Linked DNA regions of Homo sapiens: region 2 is linked to region 1. Evidence: promoter capture Hi-C in 16 types of primary human blood cells and fetal thymus (Javierre and others, 2016). All regions are on one chromosome and are shown on one strand. The core of a region is centred on a gene start or on the middle of the fragment in contact, and the rest is flanking DNA. Distances in the headings are between cores, read along the strand shown.

The links. Contacts are between HindIII fragments. The CHiCAGO score rates a contact against its expected background, and 5 or more counts as called.
Region 2: a contact is called between a fragment that was not itself captured here and the fragment with the promoter of MED10 in region 1, in 1 of 17 cell types (non-activated CD4 T cells). The highest score is 5.4, in non-activated CD4 T cells.

The regions. Positions count from the first base shown.
Region 1 is chr5:6,376,832-6,380,540 of GRCh38, reverse strand. It overlaps MED10 (mediator complex subunit 10), which reads left to right and starts at 1,994. Exons shown (of 4, transcript NM_032286.3): 1 at 1,994-2,179; 2 at 3,292-3,375. The coding sequence starts at 2,058. RefSeq lists enhancers at 1,540-1,759, 2,050-2,259. The HindIII fragment of the contact is 6,030 bases long and covers 1-3,643 here.
Region 2 is chr5:7,882,012-7,885,720 of GRCh38, reverse strand. It overlaps MTRR (5-methyltetrahydrofolate-homocysteine methyltransferase reductase), which reads right to left. Exons shown (of 15, transcript NM_002454.3): 6 at 2,444-2,566; 7 at 1-20. Among named protein-coding and RNA genes, the nearest start is that of MTRR, 15 kb to the right of the region's middle. The HindIII fragment of the contact is 5,453 bases long and covers 1-3,709 here.

The sequences.
Region 1 (3,709 bases), core at 745-3,244:
ACCTTGGGCTCATGTCATCAGGACCTCCTGAGGCCGTGTCATGAGTGTGTGTCTTCAACCTTGGCAAAATAAACTTTCTAAATTAACTGAGAACTGTCTCAGATATTCAGGGTTCACAGTATATACTCAGAAGTAGGACTGCTGGATCATATGGTAATTCTGTTTTTAGAGTTTTGGGAAACTTCCATTCTATTTTCCATAAAGGCTGCACTAATTTACATTCCCATCAACAGTGTACAAGGGTTCCCTTTCCTCCACATTTTCACCCACACCCATTGTCTTTGGTCTTTTTGATTATAGCCCTTCTAACAGTGTAAGGTGACATCTCATTATGCTTTTAATTTGTATTTCCCTGATGATATGTGATGCTGAGCATTTTTGCTGGTCATTTTTATGTCTTCTTTTGAGAAGTATCTGTTCAGGTCCTTTGCCCATTTATAAATTTCTTCTTTTGCTTTTTTGCTGTTGAGTCGTGTGCCTTTAATTTTTGCACTTTACGTTGTGAGTTTTATTTTCCATGCTTGTTCTTTGCTTCTTTATTCTCTTCTTTTCTTGCCTTCTATTGAGTTGATTGTGTTTTCTTTATTCCCTTCCCCCTGTCTACTAGTTTGGGAATTATATATACTAGCAAAGAGATACCCTTAAATTTTTAAAATAAATACTTACCAAAGCCTAAGTTCCATCAATTATCTATCTTTCTTACTTATGAAATTGAGAAAGGCCGTTCACTCCATGTCGCTACCTCTACCTAATAACTTAAAATTTTTTATTTGTCTAATATTTTATTTCCACCTTTTTTTTTTTTTTTTGAGTCTTGCTCTGTTGCCCAGGCTGGAGTGCAGTGGCATGATCTCGGCTTACTGCAACCTCTGCCTCCTGGGTTCAAGCAATTCTCCTGTCTCAGCCTCCCAAGTAGCTGGGACTACAGGCGCACACCACCATGTCTGACTAATTTTTGTATTTTTAGTAGAGACAGGGTTTCTCCATATTGGTCAGGTCGGTCTCGAACTCCTCACCTCAGGTAATCCACCTGCCTTGGCCTTCCAAAGTTCTGGGATTACAGGCCTGAGCCACCACGCCCAGCCTCCATCTTGTTTTATAATTCCCTAAAGTTAATTGTTGTTAAATCAGGAGAGAAGTATTTTATGTAACATTTCTGTTTATCAGCCCAGCCCACCAACTGGAGTGCCCTGATTCCATAAGTTTGGCAAGTCACTTACCTTCTCTGGCTTTCCATTTCTGGTCACAGCTGGGAGAGGCTCTGAAGATCATCTAGCAAAGGAGCTCCCTCACTTTGCCTGTTTCTAGGCACTGAAAAGTACAGGCCACAAATATATTCAGTAAAATAAATCACTTGAGAAATTCAAACAGGCTAGAGGAGATATCCGCTATCATAGGAGATCGGGCAGAAAAGTTTCTTAAACATAAGAGTGAAATGACCTAAACTGAATTTCAATGAGATAAACAGCAGTTTACTAAGACAGGGCAACCCCACAGGGTGCTGTTTGGTCAGAATTGGCCCGAGGAGGTGAGACCCTGACCTACGAAGGCAGCAGGTGTCCGGGAAGCATGGTTAGCAGCAAGAGCTAGGGGAGGTGGCCGCCGATTACATAGAAGAAAGGAGGCAGGCAGGCGCTGATCCCAGGGGTTCTGGTAGAGGGGCAGGGAAACTACCGTTATTGGTCCTTCATGCAAACTTTAGGATTTTCATCCATGTGTGTATTGCTTGAAGATGCTGCATTGCAGAAAGTCTTCAACTTCTCCCATGACCGAGGCAGGTCTGATGAGAGTGCAAACAGTTAGTACTCGCCCAGCTGCGCGCCGAGGCCTCCTCCAGAATCCAGACCGCATCCCCGAAAGCCCGCCCTGCCCCGCACTTAGGCCCCGCCCCAACACGCCCGTCCCGATAACGAGGCTCCGCCCCCAAGAGCTCGCCCGCGCTCCCCCAGAGGAAACGGAAGTCGTATCTGTCCGGACGGAAGCAGGAAGCGGGAGCGTAGGGCCACGCCTGCGGCGCTGCTGGTTGAGGCTGTGTGGGTCGGGGACGGGCCGAGGCGATGGCGGAGAAGTTTGACCACCTAGAGGAGCACCTGGAGAAGTTCGTGGAGAACATTCGGCAGCTCGGCATCATCGTCAGTGACTTCCAGCCCAGCAGCCAGGCCGGGCTCAACCAAAAGCTGTGAGTGGCGGCCCGAGGCTGCCGGGGTCTCCCCAGGGCCTGGCCGGGAAGCGTGTGCTAGGGGAGCGGGGATCTAGGGAGCCCGAGCCGAGCCTGACCGCTACTCGTGCCCCGCCAGCCCTCTGGTCTGGTCCCGGAGCCCGGGGCGCCTTTCCTGGCTGTGTTCAGAGGGCGGGGCCCGCGCTCCAGCCTGTTGCCAAGAGCCAACCTCTTTGAGGCCCCTTTGGAGACGTCGTCATGGCCAGATGATATACTTTACGTTTCCCTATCAAGGGAATCATGCTTTCTCTTCTAGCGTCTCCCCTCTCATGTGTAACCCCCTCCCAGCCTTTTCCTCCTGGAGCCCTTCTGGGAATTCAGTCCCTGTCTCCAGAGGGGAGGCAGGCTCCACAGTGAGTGCACGCCCTAAACTAGGCCTCAGAAGGTGAGGCTCCGAAGCCACCTGCCGCATAGGCCTGACAGTGGAGGAAATAGCGGGGAGGTGGTGCTGAGAAAGGTTGCAGAACGTTTATTATTATTATTTCTTGGCAACAGCCTTGTGCTGCCCATGTTGCTAGGCCCTGGGTTGGAGAAAAGGCAAATGCAAGTACAGCACTTTCGAGAAGGGCTTTATATGTGGCACGGACATAGAAAATGTTGCACTCGAGGTTCCATACCTAGTGCTGTGGGAATAGCCAGACCAGCCTGATGCTGTAGGAAGGCTCCAGAGAGGAGAGGAAGCTAAACCAGACAGTATGGCTTTCTTTCCCTCAGACTTTGAGTATAGTCCGCTGCCTCATGTGTTCGCTGAAACCGCACACACAGTCATATGCACAGTCAGGTAATTGTTTTTGAGAGAAGGTTCATATTTTTCATCAGGTTCCCTCTCCATCCCCCTTACTGGCAATTTCTAGTTGAGAAGGAAAGTAACAAATATTTAAGGGTATTTTGTAACTCTAACGGTGTCCTAGGAATCCTGTAGCTAACCAAAGAGGTCAGAACCGTGTGTAACCCGCATAGCTGTGAGGAGAACGAACTTGCGTGGAGCCCCGGTTGGCTGGGTAGCTCTGTGGGTGGTGCTTATGCTGTCAAGCGAAATTAACCAGATGCCTGTGTGTTTGCCTTTCCCCCAGGAATTTTATTGTTACTGGCTTACAGGATATTGACAAGTGCAGACAGCAGCTTCATGATATTACTGTACCGTTAGAAGTTTTTGAGTAAGTAACATTCTTGATATTAGTCTTGGGTATAAATCTTGTTCAGTTATGGTGTGGTATCGTGACTTCTTCATCACTGGCATTCGAGTGCCTGCTGTGTGGTAGGCACAGCCTGGGTGCTGGGGATGTGCCAGTGGAAAAAAAAATAGACAAAAATACAAAAATACCTGCCCTTATGGAACTTCCGTTCTAATGGCATTACAAAACGAAAAAAAAGAATATCCTTAATATTCTATTGTGGAAAAAAAGTTACATGTAAATAAAAGCTTATTAAATATATGAAATACATCATAGGTCCTCAAAGCCCTGCTTAGGCTAAAGAACAGCCACAAAA
Region 2 (3,709 bases), core at 1-2,500, 1.5 Mb before region 1:
TGATAGGAAAAGTCTGTATTCTAGAGAAGAGCCAAAATGAAAAAAAAAAAATACATTATACGTGTTACATAGTTTAAGCTGTAGGGTAACAAAAATATAGTTTTCAATATTATGATTTTAATATGTGAACTCAGAAAATAGAATTTCAAAAAAAAAAACACACAATTGTTTTAAAAAATAAGCCCAACTAACCAAATAAACATACTTTCATTATTAGCAGTTACTATTAAAACGAAATCTGGTAGTTACCCAGTGTTTTGCCTTTTATCATACTTAAAGAATGGAAGTCAGACCTTCCTTGTTCTCTACAAAGTAAGGTCCTATGGTGTTTTCAATAACCCATGTAAATATAAAAATCCCTCTTACAAAAACATACATGCACACACACACGAAAACATACATTATGACCAAAAGAAACTAATTATGGTCAAATGCATTGGTTTTCAATTTTCTTCTCCTTACTTTACTCTTTTCCTTTAGGGGACAGGAAAGGGTACTTTATTTCCTTAAGTATAAAACATTACACTATCTGGCTCGATACTGGTTGTGAGCAAACATGGGCTGAAAAAGTCACCACTTCCCAAGTCAAGTCTATTACTAGGCCCATTGCCTCTAAGCCCCAGAGTGATACAGATGCAGGCCAGGGCTCTGGGGAGGAGCCTCTCACAATGACACAAGCTCACATTTCTTGCCAGCAAGGGAGAGAGACTGGACTAAGCACAGACCAACCCTTGCCTCTTTATGACAAAAATGTAAAATACCAGAATAAAAAATATTTTGGTGTACATAGTATTAATATTTATGGATGCAAAACCATCTAGTTTTGACACATTGTATTTTTTTCTGTTAGGAAGTTTGATTAAATCTACACCAACAGCCTTAATGTGCCCTTGCTTTTCTGAAAGAATAACCCACTTAACCTCTCAAGACTTTCATAAAATAAACGGTTGAGCTAAATGACTTTGAAGAGGTACTCAAACACTTATTTTAGGATTATCAGTCAGTTTCTTAACCTAAGGTCAATGGATTCCAGCAGGGTGTGGAGGGTAGGAAGGGGGCCCATGGAGGGGGTGCATCGAGGCACATCTCAGACTAAAACTGTACGTAAATGTTTCTATATACAGTTGGCCCTCCATATCCTCAGGTTCTCCACCCTCAGAATCAACCAAACCTGAATGGAAAATATTTGGGACGGAAAAAAACAATAAAAAATAACAATAAAAATAATGTAAACTTAAAAATACAGTATAGCAACTACTTACGTGGTGTTAGATACTGTAAGTAATCTACAGATGACTTAAAGTGTAGGGGAGGATGTGCATAGATTATATACAAATACTGTAACATTTTACATAAGGGACTTGAGCTTTGAGGATTTGGGTATCTGAAAGGGGTCCTGGGACAAATCCTTCGAAGATACTAAGGGACAAGTGTAATCATTTTTTGGGAGAGTCCATAATTTTTTCCAGATTCTCAAGAAATCAAAACCACTGCTCTGAGGAATTAACCCTAACCTGCCTGTCTGGGTTCTATTTCTTTTCTTTTTTTAAAAAAATTGAGGCAGGGTCTCACTCTGTCACCCAGGCTGGAGTGCAGTGGCACAATTACAGCCCACTGTAGTCTCAACCTCCCAGGCTCAAGCAGTCCTCCCACCTCAGCCTCCCAAGTAGCTGGGACCATCGGTACACACCACCATGCCCAGCTACTTATTGTATTTTTTTGTAGAGACAAGGTCTTGCCATGTTACCCAGGAACTCCTGGGTTCAAGTGACCGCCTTCAGCCTCCCAAAGTGCTGGGATTATAGGCGAGAGCCACCTCGTTTGACCTTAGGCTCTATTTCTAACTTCCTGGCTGACCTTAGTGGACAGCTTCCTTTCCTGGGCCTCTTATATATAAAATGCTGTTCTGATCCCATTATTCTTTCATGGCTTATTGAGTAAGCCAGCATCTTCCTCTCAGGCTGAATCTCCTCCAGCCATTCTTCCCTAGTCCTTCCCTGAAGTGGAAAGAAAATAGGTGTGAAAATAGAAGAGAGAAAAAAATGATGGGTCAGGAATAAAATGGCAAGATGTCCTGTCAGAGACCTCTCATTCTTCTGAGCATGTATAACCAAGCACCACACAACTCAGCATACATAACCAAGCACCACACAACTCAGCATATGTAACCAAGCACCACACAACTCAGCATATGTAACCAAGCACCACACAACTCAGCATATGTAACCAAGCACCACACAACTCAGCATATGTAACCAAGCACCACACAACTCAGCATATGTAACCAAGCACCACACAACTCAGCACATGTAACCAAGCCGCACACAACTCAGCATATGTAACCAAGCAGCACACCACTCAGCATATATAACCAAGCACCACACAACTCTTTCTGCACATCCTGACAATATTACTGTGCTGAGAAATAAATTTTGCAACTTACTGAAATGTCCAATTCTACCAGCAGAGTGGTTTTTATGGCATCATTCGTAGTAAGTTGAACTGCCTTTGAAATTGGCACTTGAAAAACTGGATCTGCTGAAGTCACAGATACTTGGCTTTCCTCCTTGAAAAACAAATGTGACAAAACGTAAGTGCAATTTTCAATTATACCCTTCTTTCAATTAGTGACTACGCAAGATCCACAGGGGCTTACAAAACTTCCTGGCTACTCAGTATTCATTTCCAAGGTAAATGAATGAGGGCAGATATATGGAGCTAGCTTTTCAGAAGAGAAGCTCAATTCTATCTCAAACGCTTTATCTATTAGACATTAGAATTTCTGAAATACAAATAGAAAATAAAAATACTGGCATGTTCATGTAAAGATCTAGTAGTTTTCCTAATAAACTACGTCAAGGGAAACAGAATGTCTGCAAATGTTTCAGGAAGGAGAGATCTTGAAGAATGTGACAGATGTTTAAGAATGCAACATGTGTGTAGATGGTCACAGGAACCCCCTAGTGTGGGGCAATGCTGTTCATATGGCTGCTGAAATATGGCTGGTGAAATACAGGTAGTGTCACTAAGAAACTAATTATTAATCTTAACAAATGTTCATTAATTTAAATTTGAGTAGCTATATGTGGCCAGCAGCTCCTGTACTGGACACAGTAGGTCTTGGAAAACTGCAAAAAATCCCAGTTCTTTATAATACTCCCTACTCCTTTTCTATATTCCTAAGTTTAAAAACAAAATATTTTAACAGTACTAGTCAATTAACTGTGGATAAGTGGCTATATGGGAAAGCTGGGATGAAGGTCAGTTCTGGGTGTCTGGGAGCCATAATGTGGGGGTACTGAGATGTACCCCTAAGAAGACTGCCTTCTGCAAAGGCTATGGCAGTGCTGACAATGACTACCTCTGCCACCTGAAAGAAACACTTCAGCATTCTTAGGTCACACCTTACCCCTGCCCACACCTCCTTTCAGAGGCAACCCACATCCAATGTCTCATCAAAGACTACAAAGGTCCAGCCTCTTCGTTCCAACTCAGGACAACTCTGAAGACCCACCAGCTCCAGAGAACCCTGTGGGATTGGCTGAGGCCTTTGCTGAGACTGCACAGCAGCTCAGCTTCTCACTGTGCCCAATCCTGCTTCCATCCCTCCATGCCCAAAGATGATGCTGTCAAGAGGATGCCCTAAAAACATCTCATTGTTTGACTCCTGGGAACCAGCCTGTGACAGTCAGTGCCAGGGTAGCCTGGG